Regions from separate parts of the Homo sapiens genome. Here region 1 is linked to region 2. The links are contacts of gene promoters, found by promoter capture Hi-C in blood cells and fetal thymus (Javierre and others, 2016). All regions are on one chromosome and are shown on one strand. The core of a region is centred on a gene start or on the middle of the fragment in contact, and the rest is flanking DNA. Distances in the headings are between cores, read along the strand shown.

Region 1 (4,314 bases), core at 128-2,627, 620 kb after region 2:
GGGTGGGGAGGTGAGATGCAAGTTGAGTTTAAGCCCTTTCACTCCTCAGGTCTCACAGCATTGCAATATGCAGCTCCCCTTCCTGGTCCCCACCAGCATCCCAACTCCTTTCCCCCAACATTGCCTCTTACCTCTCATCACTGAGCCAGGCCCAAGGCTGCCCTCACCCCCTAGATGCAGGAATATGGGTCCATCCTGGCCAACCCAATGTTGGTCATTCACCCAGTAACGCTGAGAGGTGGGATGGGGAAGAAGAAATGGCACTGTGAGAGTCCTGACTTATTCTCAATTCCTCATTTGTTCCAGTCTCTCTTCCTAATGGATCTTTCCTTATGTACTTAACAGTGTCTGAAATGAGCTTGTTTATTTACTTGCTCACTTTTCCCCTGTTCATCTCCTCATCTAGAATGCAAAATATACAAAAGCAAATTTTTGACCTGGTTTTTCACTCTTATATCCCCAGAACTGAGGGAGTGGCTCTCACATTGAAGGAACTTGCTATTTCTTGAAGTAATAATTGTAAAATAAGAAATAAATGCAGATGGATTTAGGAATAAGATCCAAGTGGGATGATATTTGGAGACTAAATACAGAGGAAGCACTGAAAAATGGCGAATTTGTTCCTTCTTTCGATAGATATCTTTGAGTGCCTGTTGTGAGCTAGGTCTGATTCCAAAGCTGGTTCAAATTTCTGCTACCTACTGAGACCTGGTGGTAGGTTTTGTGTCCAGTCTGGACAGGGACAAGGGGGTAGGGAGGAGCAGTGAATGTGAATGACAGAGAGAAAGAAATGGTGAAGGGCAAGATCTGAGGGACAAAACGAGTGGGACCCCGAGGAGAGGAGAGAGTAAGGCCAAATCTACAAAGGGCAGGAAAAGGGATACTGACAGCAAGCATAACATGAGATTCAAGCAGAGGGATGGGGAGAACTGAGGTGTGGAGAGAGAAAAAAGTGCAGACTGAGGAAGAGATGAGGGAGACTGAGGAGAGGGCAGGATGGTTAGTGGACTCCCCGTCTCCCGGCCTCACCTGTAGGAAGGATCGTCTGTCGGACACGTTGAAGGGGTCCAGCAGTTGCTCCAGCCACCCCACTTTTGGGAGGGCTGCAGCACCTGGCCCCAGGCTCAGGCCCAGGCCCTGGGCAGAGCTCTCCTGAAACTGCTGAATGTGCTCACCCAGGCGCCTAAGAAGGGAGGCTGTGGGACATGGAGGGAAGGAAGTCAGGCTGGCCCCCTTAGGATGCCCTGCTTGACCCTCAGCCTCCTCTTACCTGGAGCCAAGAGTCCCCAGAGGGAAACCAAGAGCAGAGGGCCCAGCCACTGGGCAAGCCAGACGGCCATGGTGTTCGGGACTCTGTTCTCCCCCAGGAGGACCTTTATCTTATCCTCAGCAGCCGGGCCTTAAATCCATCACCTTTCAGCAGAGGCTCAGGTTTCTTTCCTTTCCTGGCAGGTCAAGCGTCTGTAGGAACTGCTAAAGCGGGGCAGGGACGCCAGAGTCTGTACACAGAGGCTGCTGATGCAGCATCGGAACTCCCAGTTTCTTCTCTCTGGGCCTCTCAGTCTGTTCTTCCCTCAGCTCTCAGTAGCCCTCGCTGTCTCAGTCTCCTCCTCTCCGCTCTTCGGTCTACCTTCTCTTTATCTCAGATTCCTCCTTTGCATGCCTTATTGTCCTTCAACCTCTGTCTCTCCCCACCTCAGCACCTCCTCTGGAACCCCAGTTGCCCACTTATTCTCAGTCTTTTCTTTCTGCCCCTCAGCATATCTTCAGTACCCCTCAGTTGTTCCCACACTCAGTCTTTCCGTCTCTTTTTTCTCAGTCCCCCATCTCTTTTTCAGTCTTTCTCTCCATACTCATCTCTTTGTCCCCCAATCTCACCTTGTCTATTTTCCAGCCCCCTCACTTTCTGCTCTGCTTCACTGTCCCGAGCTTCTCTGACCCACAATCTCACACTGTCCATAGACTCCTTACAGTTCTTTGAACATACCAGGCTTGCTTCTGCCTTAGGGTTCTTATTCTTGTTGTTCCCACCCTATGGATTGTGATTTCCCTATATACCCACGTGGTTTGCTCCCTCACTTCAACTGGATCTTTATTCAAAGGTCATTCATTCAGAAAGGTCTTCCATGGTCAGCTTTTTAAAAATTGCCAAACCTATGGCCCTCTTCTATTCCTTTTCAAACTTTATTCCTAATTCTTTTTCATGGGACTTATCACTATGAGAAATATTGTACATTTAAAAAGTTATTCCCATAAATTTAAAAAATATATCCAGAATCTGATGACTTCTCACTACCTTCAGTGCTACCACTGCTGAGCCACCATCATCTCTGACTTGGGATATCATGGAAGGCTTTTAGCTGGTCACCCTGTTTCTGCCTCATGATTTATTCTACACTCAGCAGACAGAGAGACAGAATTAAATATTAGCCCAATCATTCACAATCATTCACTCCCTGGTTTAGAACACTTCCCTGATGCCCCATCTTACTCAAAGTAAATCTAAAGTTTTGAAAACAGTTTTTAAAACTCTGTATGACCTGGCCCCCTGTTGTATATACTGTCATGATTTCATCTCCTACCCCTCCTGGGTTCACTGCTCCAACTGCATTGGACTATTTCATATTTCACAAGACTCACTCCTTCCTTAGAATTTTTGCTCTCCTTAGGATGCTTTTCCTCCAAATATCTGCAAGTCTTATTTTATCACTTCCTATAGTTCCCCATTCATATATTTTATCTTACCAAATGGGTTTTACCTGACCACCCTTATAAATGGCACAACACCTGAGACCCTGTCCCCTGATCCTTCTGTTGTCACTCCCTGATAGTGATGACATTTTATTGCACTTCTCTCCCAAACCATTCCCCAGGAAGTAAGCTTATTCTGGGAAGCAATTTTGTCTGTTTTGTTCACTGGTGTACCCATAACACCCAAACTACTTCAAGGCACTTGAAAGGTTCTCAATGAATATGCAGTGAGCAAAAGGCTATATGGATAAATTGATTAATTAATGAATTAGTTTTCTGCTCAGGAAAGAATTCCCTAAGAATGTGACCTAAGAGTTGAGGCAAGGGAGTGAGTGGGGAGGGAGGAAGGCAGGGAAAAAAATACTTGAGGTAAGAATGAGGAGCCAGGGGGAGCATGAGGTTATCTGGAGTCAGAGGGTTTCTGGCCCAAGAAAGAGCAGGTGCAAAGACTCTGAGTCACAAACCTGCTTGGCACCACCAAGGAACATCAACAGTTAGTGGGCTGGAAAGTCAATGAAGGAATTTGAATTAGATGAGAAGAGAGAAGTAATCAGAGATTCAACCCTGCTGGCAAGCCATAGAAAGGGCTTTGGCTTTTATTTAAAGACTGATATATGGCCGGGCGCAGTTGCTCACGCTTGTAATCCCAGCACTTTGGGAGGCCGAGGCAGCTGGATCACAAGGTCATGAGTTCGAGACCAGCCTGGCCAACATGGTGAAACCCTGTCTCTAGTACAATTACAAAAATTAGCTGGGCATGGTGGGGAGGCGCCTGTAATCCCAGCTACTCAGGAGGCTGAGGCAGGAGGATCGCTTCAACCCGGGAGGTGGAGCTTGCAGTGAGCCGAGATCATGCCACTGCACTCTAGCCTGGGCAACAGAGCTAGACTCCATCTCAAAAAAAAAAAAAAAGGACTGATATGTTGCCGTAAGGGTCTTTTAAAACCTTAATACATAAGTGAATTTAAAGTTGGGTGTGGTGGTGCATGCCTGTATTCTCAGCTACTTGGGAGGCTGGGACGAGAGGGCTGGGAGTTCAAAGCTGCAGTACACTGTGATCGAGCCTGTGAATAGCCACTGCACTCCATATTGGGCAACACAGTAAGAACCTATATTTAAAAAAATGTATTAATAAATTTCTAAATTTATTTTTCGATAAATACGAATTTACTTAGTTGTTTTAATTGCTAGACTGGAAAGACAGGGATGTTTATCCCAACTCAATAATAAGACAAATAGCACAATTGGAAATGGAAAAAGGGTTTGAACAGGGATTTCTCCAAAGAAAATACACCAATGGCCAATAAGCACATGACAAGATGCTCAACATCATTAGTCGTTACTAAAATGCAATTATTATTTATTTATTTATTTATTTTTGGAGACAGAGTCTTGCTCTGTCACCCAGGCTGGAATGCAGTGGCATGATCTTGGCTCACTAAAACCTCTGCCTCCTGGGTTCAAGTGATTCTCCTGCCTCAGCCTCCCAAGCAGCTGGAATTACAGGTGCACGCCACCATGCCCGGCTATTTTGTATTTTTAGTAGAGATGGGGTTTCACCAT
Region 2 (4,359 bases), core at 1,175-3,674:
ACACATTTGAAATATAAAAGGTAAACATTACTGAGAAACGAAATCTGATAGCTGGAAGGCAGGGCAAGGCAGAGCCAGCCTAGGTCAGGAAGGTCACACAACATTTATTTGAAACTTTTTTTTGAGACGGACTCTTACTTTGTTGCCCAGGCTGGAGTGCATGGAGTGCAGGGGCTCGATCTTGGCTCACTGCAACCTCCGCCTTCTGCGTTCAAGCGATTTTCTTGCCTCAACCTCCTGAGTAGCTGGGATTATGGGCGCCCTCCACCACGCCAGGCCAATTTTCTTTATTTTTAGTAGAGAAGGGGTTTCGCCATCTTAGCCAGGCTGGTCTCGAACTCCTGACCTTGTGATCCACATGCATCGGCCTCCCTTCTGGCTGGGATTACAGGCGTGAGCCACCGCGTCCGGCCATTTGAAACTCTTTTTCTTGGAATAAAGTCATCCTCGGTCTTTTCCTCCTGCACTTTATTTGTAAATGTAAAAGACAGGGTTTCTGGGCACAGCTGATTTCCTAGTTCAACAGAAAAGAGGAACATGAGGGAGCTCAAGCGGCACCTTCACAATTCTAAGGAAATACAGGGTAAAAGCCACCTTTCTTTCTCAAACAGCTTCCTGAAGTGTTTCTAGGTGGAATGAGGAAAAAAAAATAGAAAGTTCTTGCCCCAAAAATGTGGTTGGCGAGGGAGAGAAAGGAACAGAAAGGACAGCTACAGAAAGAGTAAAATATAAGGAAAAGAATAGAGAACCAAATTTGAGAAAGGTGAGGAATCCCACCTTGGAGCTATCATCAGGCGTCGTCTTTTGCAGTCAGCCACTCCATAGGCTGATCACTTCGAGTTTGTACGGAAGCAGTTTCTACACGCTATTTCACAAATGCCCGAAACGACTGTGATTACCCCTCTAGAGATGGCGCCATTTGATTCCAGCAGCCACAAAGCACTAGAACAATCGATGCTAAGAGGTGACAGGAAAAACAGGCTGCAAAGACCCAGACAATGGAATGCAGCGGTGGTCAGCCTAAAACACTGTAGAAGGGCAAGATGAGCTGAGTAATTTTTAACTGGGCATCATTTTTAGAAACTGGAGTTTAAGTACCCCCTTTTCCATTTTTTCCTGAAGTCGTGGGCAGGGCGCAAGGTCTGTGAATCGGCCGACCGGATGCAGCTGGTGTGGAGAGTTCCCAATCAGGTCCGATTTATTACTATATAAAGTACTGCTGCGAGGCTTGCCGTGTTGCATTTTGTTTAGTACAAGACATGTCTGGGCGCGGCAAAGGCGGGAAGGGTCTGGGCAAAGGAGGCGCTAAGCGCCACCGCAAAGTTCTGCGCGACAACATTCAGGGCATCACCAAGCCCGCCATCCGACGCCTGGCACGGCGTGGAGGCGTTAAGCGCATCTCAGGCCTTATATACGAGGAGACACGCGGAGTTCTTAAAGTGTTTTTGGAGAATGTAATCCGCGATGCAGTTACCTACACGGAGCACGCCAAACGCAAGACAGTCACAGCCATGGACGTGGTTTACGCGCTCAAGCGCCAGGGCCGCACCCTGTATGGCTTTGGCGGCTGAGTGTTTTACTTACTTACACGGTTCCTCAAAGGCCCTTCTCAGGGCCACCCATGAAGTCTGTGAAAGAGCTGTAGACTAAAGATAGTTAATTTCTTAAGAACACTTAAACGTATGGCAGTTTTGGCAAATTAGCGATTCCACATAAGCAGTCGCTGAAGTTTGAGGTTCGGTGCCCCTTTCAGCATTACTTAGTGGTTAAAAGTGCCGGCTTCTCTGATACACGGCCAAATCTATAACGCCTCTCTGGTTTTTGCAAAAGTCATAATGAAACAGCCGGTCTCATTTATCTTGTATCGATTACTTTACCGCTACCAATGCGAGGGCTGTGTAACTATGACACTGTGGTCCGCAACGCCCAAAATGTTTTAATATCGCCCTTTACAGAAAAAGTCGGCCAACTTCTAAAACATTAAGTACGTTTAAATTTGAGAAATACTGGCATACCACAACGCTCGAATTTCATATCCCCTTCAATGCCTCCATTTACAAATTTACTCTAGTTTCACTTTTCCTTTACGTTCTTTAACTTTTTGTCAAATCAGTAATGACACCTCGTAATTAAAATAGTGCAAGGCAAGTTTAGATTTATCAAGCTTATATTTAAACAGGATTTTGATGCATGAAAAATCCTAGACTTTTGGGGGATTTTTTTTTGTTTCCGTTTTTGTTTTTCTTTAGCTAGCAAAACCATTTTACGTTTCTTGACCCAAAACAGAGGCGGAATGTCTCCCTTTCACTAGCAGATTAAACTGGGAGCCAATTCCGTGTGTGAGACGTGGCATGGCACAGTCTACTGTCCAATCAGAACGCGAGGGCAGCTATAAATACCGGGATGATCAGTTTTTTTCTCTCATTTGTGTTGAGTAGGTACGTCTACTTAGCCATGGCACGAACAAAGCAAACAGCTCGCAAGTCCACCGGCGGCAAAGCGCCGCGCAAGCAGCTGGCCACCAAGGCGGCTCGCAAGAGCGCTCCGGCCACCGGTGGCGTCAAGAAGCCCCACCGCTACCGCCCCGGCACCGTGGCCCTGCGCGAGATCCGCCGCTACCAGAAGTCGACCGAGCTGCTAATCCGGAAGCTACCTTTTCAGCGCTTGGTACGGGAGATCGCACAGGACTTTAAGACCGATCTGCGCTTCCAGAGCTCGGCGGTGATGGCGCTGCAGGAGGCTTGCGAGGCCTACCTGGTGGGGCTATTTGAGGATACCAACCTGTGCGCCATTCACGCCAAACGCGTCACTATTATGCCTAAAGACATCCAGCTTGCGCGCCGCATCCGAGGGGAGAGGGCATAAATATTCCTATCAGCCCAAGAAGTCTGTCCAACCCCAAAAGGCTCTTTTCAGAGCCCCTCAATTGTCACCAAAAGGAAGCTGTAGCTTTTGAGACGTGTCTTAGCTCCATGTTAAATACAAGCTGTGGACAAAACGTGGTAGTGGCCCAACACACTATAATGCAGGAGTCAGGTCACAGGCTGTTGGTATGCTAAATCAATTTCACATACAGAACCTGTTCCTACTGATAAGGATTATCACTCAAAAAAGACATGTCATGGGGTCAATTTTACAGATGAAGTTTAGTTTTGAAAAGTATTCCTGTTTTTATCCTTGAGGAATGTGTCTCCTGCGTATCTACCTGCCCCTACTGAAGGGAACAAGTAGCACAATGAGTGTCCACAGGCTCTGGTGAGGCCGAGGCAGGCGGATCACAAGGTCAGGAGATCAAGACCATCCTGGCTAACACGGTGAAACCCCCCTGTCCACTAAAAAAAAGACTGCCGGCCGTGGTGGCACGCGCCTGTAGTCCCAGCTACTCGGGAGGCTGAGGCAGGAGGATCGCTTGAACCTGGCAGGCAGAGGTTGCAGTGAGCCGAGATCGCGCCACTGCCCTCCAGCCTGGGCTACAGAGCGAGACTCCGCCTCAAAAATACAAAAAACAACAGGCTCTAAAAACTACACACATGAGAGTGGAACAATAGACAATAAGGACTCAGAAGGGAGGAAAGAATGAATGATAAGTTACTTAATTGGTACAATGTAAGCTATTTAGCTCTTGTATAGCCCATGTAACTTGACCACCTTGGAGCATATGCACATAACAAAGTTGCCATCGTACCCCATGCAAGTAACAGTTTTGACAAAAAGCTCGACACTTTTGTTCTGTTTCAATGTAATGTTTAGCAAGCCATGTGTTAGGTAGTGGGCCTCTGAGGAGGGATACTTTAACCTACTGCATGCTGTCATCTATGAAATGAACTTCTAGCTCTAAGTGGACCTTAAAAAATATTTTCCTGTCATTTCACCATATGCTTGTCATAGACTGTGGAGTTGGATTTTCATGAGATTTTTTCTTTCTTTTTTTTTTTCAGAGAGAATCAGTCTGGGTATTAAACTTCAAGTGGTATTTTAAAGCTCTTCCTGGTTTCTAACCAAACTTTTCCATTATTTCCAGCTGTTTTAGAGTTTCCTCATGTGCTCTACATATGTGACTATCATGACCTCATTTTGCTCTTAAACTTTTTGAAGCACACATCTTGACCTAGGAGATATCTGGCAGAGATGTGAAGGCAATTTTTCTCCCTAGTGCTCTCAGCCAGCTCAGCCTCATATCTGTGCCTTCCTTTCTCATATTGGATTCACTCTTGCAAAGAGGCATGTATCCCAGCAACTGGTGCAGCGGTGTCCGATCTTTTGTCTTCCCTGGGCCACGTTGGAAGAAGAATTGTCTTGGGCCACACCTAAAATACAGGATCACTAAAGATAGCTGACGAAAGAAAACAAAGGAAGGAA

What was found. The method cuts DNA at HindIII sites, captures the fragments that hold promoters and counts their contacts. A CHiCAGO score of 5 or more calls a contact.
Region 1: the fragment with the promoter of PRSS16 here is called in contact with the fragment with the promoter of H3C11 in region 2 in 4 of 17 cell types (total CD8 T cells, total B cells, activated CD4 T cells and 1 more); the score reaches 7.7 in total CD8 T cells.

The regions. Positions count from the first base shown.
Region 1 is chr6:27,244,764-27,249,077 of GRCh38, reverse strand. It overlaps PRSS16 (serine protease 16), which reads right to left and starts at 1,377. Exons shown (of 12, transcript NM_005865.4): 1 at 1,271-1,377; 2 at 1,030-1,196; 3 at 132-231. The coding sequence starts at 1,340. The HindIII fragment of the contact is 3,507 bases long and covers 1-2,883 here.
Region 2 is chr6:27,870,411-27,874,769 of GRCh38, reverse strand. H3C11 (H3 clustered histone 11) reads left to right here and starts at 2,424. Exons shown (of 1, transcript NM_003533.3): 1 at 2,424-2,925. The coding sequence starts at 2,455. The coding sequence ends at 2,865. It overlaps H4C13 (H4 clustered histone 13), which reads left to right and starts at 1,236. Exons shown (of 1, transcript NM_003546.3): 1 at 1,236-1,622. The coding sequence starts at 1,260. The coding sequence ends at 1,571. RefSeq lists enhancers at 956-1,005, 1,086-1,255, 1,556-1,605, 1,037-1,674, 3,590-4,227 and 1 more. The HindIII fragment of the contact is 2,761 bases long and covers 2,167-4,359 here.